Regions from separate parts of the Homo sapiens genome. Here region 1 is linked to region 2. Evidence: promoter capture Hi-C in 16 types of primary human blood cells and fetal thymus (Javierre and others, 2016). All regions are on one chromosome and are shown on one strand. The core of a region is centred on a gene start or on the middle of the fragment in contact, and the rest is flanking DNA. Distances in the headings are between cores, read along the strand shown. Region 1 overlaps GALNT5 (polypeptide N-acetylgalactosaminyltransferase 5). Region 2 holds the start of CCDC148 (coiled-coil domain containing 148).

What was found. Contacts are between HindIII fragments. The CHiCAGO score rates a contact against its expected background, and 5 or more counts as called.
Region 1: a contact is called between a fragment that was not itself captured here and the fragment with the promoter of CCDC148 in region 2, in 1 of 17 cell types (neutrophils). The highest score is 7.3, in neutrophils.

The regions. Positions count from the first base shown.
Region 1 is chr2:157,302,659-157,305,358 of GRCh38, reverse strand. The region is part of intron 7 of GALNT5 (polypeptide N-acetylgalactosaminyltransferase 5); the gene reads right to left. Among named protein-coding and RNA genes, the nearest start is that of ERMN, 22 kb to the left of the region's middle. RefSeq lists a silencer at 2,670-2,700. The HindIII fragment of the contact is 2,838 bases long and covers 1-2,696 here.
Region 2 is chr2:158,455,334-158,458,071 of GRCh38, reverse strand. It overlaps CCDC148 (coiled-coil domain containing 148), which reads left to right and starts at 1,319. Exons shown (of 14, transcript NM_138803.4): 1 at 1,319-1,657. The coding sequence starts at 1,633. It overlaps PKP4 (plakophilin 4), which reads right to left and starts at 1,120. Exons shown (of 22, transcript NM_003628.6): 1 at 854-1,120. It overlaps LOC124907900, which reads left to right. Exons shown (of 1, transcript XM_047446754.1): 1 at 1-941. The coding sequence starts at 618. The coding sequence ends at 941. RefSeq lists silencers at 121-340, 371-430, 451-500, 751-800, 1,021-1,390 and 1 more. The HindIII fragment of the contact is 15,946 bases long and covers 1-2,738 here.

The DNA of each region.
Region 1 (2,700 bases), core at 28-2,527, 1.2 Mb after region 2:
TGACCCCTTCAAGCCTTTTGACTGCTTAAGCACTGAATCATAGATAAATTGAGTCCTTCAAAGAACAGCAGATTCCAGCTGATTCCCTGTCAGAATCTTCTTAATGACCCAAGCAAGCTACAATTCATTATAGGAAAGTCACGAAAGCTAATACAGAGCCAAGCATAAAGGCACTTTCTGGCAGGCCCCCAGGTTTTTAATGGATTTACAGGGTCAAATATGGAGGTAGCTTTCTTTAAGTCACCATTTAATGCAGAAAAATGTTGATTTCCTTTCCCCCTTTGACATCCTGGGCAGGGCTAACAAGATGATGGGTTAACAGTGCAACTTAGGGTTTTCAGATTTCTCGAACAGCTGTGCAGAGCCGAATCTATAGGACATGTCCTGGGAAAGCCTCCTGAGCTGGGAGGAGCTGAAGTCTTTGTTGCCAGGGACACTATTTGTGTCCTTCCTGTTCTATGATGCCTAACAAAGAGCTCTAACTCAGGGTGCTGCACTGATGCAGACTGGATGCTCACAGAATTGCCAGACTTCATAAAAGGGGGCTCAGTACATTGGTCCTCAATTTTACATGCTTAGCTTAGTGAACAAGAAAGTAAGGGACATCTTCAGGGATCAGAATATGCGGAAAAAATTAAAGGCTACAGGGAAACTTGCAAAGGTTGGCAAGAAAGACTTGTTCCCTCATATGGATGGAAGAAAAACAGAGGTATGTGTAAACCAAAAATCTGGAATTCAGGTCTTCCACATAACAGCGGAAAAACAGATCTTCAGTTGAATGCTGCACTGGGAAAAACAATTTGCCCATTAGCAAAGGGAGAAAACAAGGAAGCTGGATTGTCCCTGAGAATCTGAAACTTTACACCAGGCTTCATTTGGATTTGAGATGAATATTTACACCACCTGCCTTGGATAGGAACCATCACAGACTTTCAAGGCATAGAAACAAACATTAAAAATAGTACCAGGTTGTTAATTACTTCTGAGGTGCCTGGCACAGGCAGAAACAAAGCAACTATGGAAGGATGGAATCTCTATCAAAAATCCTCAGAGAAAGCTCTATTAGCAATTTAAAATGACAAATATGGGAGGAGACAGCTCACTGTTAGTAAATGTGGGCATCACAAGGCACAGAAGGATTCAATGCCCCCACAGTCCCACCCCTGAACTTCAGAGAGGAAGGTGAATAGAAAGACATGAAGGTAGAATAATCTCGGGGCTTAAAGGAAGGAAAGCATGCTGCAATTGCTCTCTGTACTGAAGCAGAGATAAATATTATGTAAGCTCCTGTATTTGTGGATCATGCAGAAATATTCTATCTTCAAACAAATTTGGAAAATTCTGGTTTCCACAGAGCCGAACAGGTGGTTCTACTCCAGAACTTCTCAAAATCTTCAGGGTGTTAATGTTCAGCTTGCTGTCAGAATGTTGTACAAATGTTTCTCAAATGTGCTTGACCATGGAACCCTGAGACAGCACAAGTAACATTGGTCAGGACAGTGTTTGGGAACCCCCTGTTTAACTATTTGTGTCTATTTTGTATAATCCTTCCAAGAACCGAAAAGCATTGGAAGGAAAGATAAAACTTTTCTGTCCCTTACATGTCCCTCCCTCATTTGACCTGAAGATTTTTTTTTCCTTTTTCTTAGAAATTACTGAGGAAACTATTTAATTGAGGTTTTTGCCATGGAAGGTACTTTTACACCAACCTAATACTTTTCTTCATATAGACATCATCTCTGAAGTGTTTTGGAATTGTTATTCTTCATTTCATTATTAGTTGTTTTCAGAATTTTCCTTTTTATTTAAAAATAATTGATCCATGTTTTTACTGTAAACCATTTTAATCTTTAAAAAAAATAGGCAGTGTATGAATTTTAAATTATCCATGTTGTATTATTTCATTTTCCAATTTAGGAAGTAGACATTCCGCACAATTTATGACAGAATTGTTAAACATTAGGCTATTTGCCAGCGGTTTAATCCAGTGTAAAAATACATTATTGGTGAGATTCTTTCATTAGCTTCAAATGTTGTCGTTTCAATAAGAAAATATTTCTTCTTATTACAAAAAACCAAAACTTTCACTGGATTTAAATTTCTGCTTGTGGAGGTTGAAAAAAGGGAAACGGAGCTATAGACTGTTTGCCAGCAGTTTAATCCAGTGAAAAATACATTATTGGTGAGATTATTAGCTTCAAATATTGTTGGTTCGATAAGAAAATGTTTGTTCTTATTACAAAACACAAAACTTTCACTGGATCTAAATTCCGTAGTGGAGGTTGAAAGAAGGGAAACGAAGCAAGTAACAAAAAGAAGTTGTGGAGTTTATTTTCTTGGAACTTTCCACGATTGTCTATCTAAAATAATGATCTACTTAATTTGTTGTAAATTACCTGGAGAAAGGTCCTAATTTTTTAAAAATGTTAATAACGCTCCCTGCTGGTTTGCTTCAGAAGGGAGCAAACTACATCTTCACTGAAATTTGTTTAAGGAAGACAACAAAGGAAAATAGAAGGAATTTGTTAAAATCACTTTTTAAAATACTTGGTGCATTTTGATATAGTATAGCGGAGGCATCAGCAGAAGGCTGTTTCATTAGGAGAGCTCTCCAGAAATTTCATAGGAACTCACTCAGGTTAGCGCAACAGCGGAGCCCAAAGGTAGTTTTCTAGTGCCCTCTGGTGGTTAAAGCTTATT
Region 2 (2,738 bases), core at 70-2,569:
CGCGGTGTGTCGCACTCAGCCAACACGCAGCCAAATCCCGGCCCCGCCGCTCGCTCTCCGGGTAGCGGTCCAGGGGAGAGGGCCGGCAGCCTCGGCAGCGGGCGGGGATACCAGATCCGCCAGGGAGGTGCCGCAGCTCCGCTTCAACTCCTGGCAGGGAGAGGAGGAAGCGGCGGCGCAGGAGGGCAGCGGCGAGGCTCGGCGCTGGGGAGCCGGGAGGGGTGGAGCGTGAGGATCCGCGGCCGGTAGAGAGGGGCGCACTAGGCAGAGGGGTGGGCAGGACCGGCAAGGAGTACAGGACTTCGGGGACAAACGCAAGACCGCGCGGGCAGCAGGGGCGTGGGAAGACGGGGAGGGGACCAAGGTGCAGGATCTGGGGCTAGAAGGACAGACAGCCGGCCCCGAGTGCTGAGGAGGGCGGGCGCCCAGTGGTGTCGAGGGCGACTTGGGGCGCGCGGCGGCAGGCAGCGGGGAAGCCGCCGCGAGGGCGTCCAGCAGGGCTCAGCGCGGCGCTCAAGTTCGGGGCTGGGAGCTCTGAATCCGAACAGCCCAGCGTGGGCAGAGGTCGTGCGCTGCGCGTACGGGAGACCGGGGAGAGGAATCGCCGGGAAAAGCAAATGGAGGGTGAAACTTGTGCGCCTGCCGGGGGGAGGGGAGCAGCAGGCGAGTGCGGGCAGGAACACGAGGCGGGGCAGGAAAGCCGCGGCGGCCGCGAGGCGCTGGGGACGCGGCAGCGGGAGGGAGGCCCCCGGCCCCCGGCGCGCAGGTCCTGGCCCTGGCGCGTGTTCGGGGCGAGGGCCGAGGGTCTCGTGGGCAGGAGTCTCCGCGCCCTCCCGCGAGCCCACACACTTACTTTCCAGCTTAGGCAGCGGCCGTCGTCGCTCCAGGGATCAGGGACATCGGCGCCGAGGGGTCGCCGCTGCGGCACCCGAAAAAATTAAAAAAGTGCCGCGGCGGCGCGGCTGCCCGCCCCTCCCTCCCCCACCGGCCCCCGCCCCCGGAGCGGCTCTCCCACCACCCCCGGCGGCGGCGGTGGCCAACTTGCCCCTCTACCCCTTGCCCATGGTGCCGCCTCCGCGGCCGGCGTCGACGCGGACTCAGCCCCGGAGCCCCCTCTACTGCCCAGAGGCCGCCGCCGCCGCCCGCCCCGCTGCCAGCCCTCCCGCCCGGCCAGCCCCGGGCTCCCGGGAACGTCAGCACGCCGCCGTCCCCGGGCCAGCTCCCGCCACCCCATTGGCGGGAAGGAGAGGGCTGGCCCTCCCCATTGGCCCGGCCCTCATATTGAACAGGCCAATGGGAGCTGCGGTTTCAGGTCGCCATAGAGACCGATGCTGTTCAGCGCGAGAGGGCCTGGAGAGGGTGGGTGTGAGAGAGAAGGTGTCTCAGGTCTCGGGCGCGGGAGGGGGTGGCGGAGAGGACAGGGAGATTCCCCAGCGCTGGCTCTGAAATCTGGGGCAGGCTTTCCTTGCCTTACTGCCAATCCCAACTGTGCCTGGTAGGGTTTGTCCCTGGCGTCAAAGGTAGGAACAGCTGAGCCCTTAGATGTACCCCTGACGGCGAGAGCCCAGGAGTGGGCGTTTCACTTTTCCTGCGTTTGGGGAGTCCCTGAGGCTATGCCCTTTGACCTTTGACATGTGTGCAGCTTCTGCTTCTCCAGGTGAGTTTGCACCCCATCCCTTCCATCGCTGCTTCCTCCTGACGTCACTGAGCCACCTAAATCCTACTTATGTTTGTTCTCTGCAGCCACTCCCCCTTCCCTGGGGTGGATCTTTCCTCAACGTTTTGGGTCCTCAAACTCATAACTCTTCTGAAAGACTCAAAGAGGATTTCCTTTGAGGATATTTTGGTAAGGGAACGAGGTGGCGGATTGTATGATAGATGCCAAAGCGTCAACACATGAGCTAGCCTGTTCCCTGATTCTCAAAGCAAACCTCTAATCTCCCTGTGGGCAGATATTTATTAAACACATCTGTGTGTACATCCCGCACTATGAGCTTGACAGGTGCATGTTCTTTCACTTGAGAGGTTACAGGCTTGTTAAAGATAGAGGAAACAGAAACAATCCTTCACACCTTGTGATGATTTCACAAAAGAGTAAGGGAAATGGATTACAGTTGATGGATTTTGTTTTCTATTTTCCAGTATCTCTTTAAATTTGATATGGAAATAACCTGAGGCATGAAATCAGTACACGCAAAAATCTTGAGCTTTAATAATGTCTTCTACTTTCATTTAAAATCATTTTGTGGTGGTTTATCAATACTAATTGTTTTTTGTCAATAAATTTTATGTTTAGATATCACCTTCTTAAAGTGAGATTTCATGAACATATTAGGCTTTAAAAGATGATATTGCTCTAGCCTATAGCCACTGATATTCTTACATTCTTTTGGCGATTTTACTTTTTTTAGACTAATCTCTTTAGTAAGGAGACTATGTTACTACCCCTCAAATTGGAGGGACCATATTGTGTGAAAAAGCTGATAGGATTTTGGAAATTACAAATATTTTGTTGGGAGAAACAGGTTAATGTGTGTGCAAGCTGCATATGTCTAAGTATTGTTCTGAATTTTAAGTTGGGTGATATGCTTTGCTACTGGTTTTTATCTTACTATAATTGAAGATTACAAAGATGTAACCTAAGAAATGTTAATATGGTGCCTTGATTGGAAAAAAAAAAACCTCTCCACATTTGTAGTAAAATGTGAACTCAGTTGACAGTCCTACACAGGGTAGGA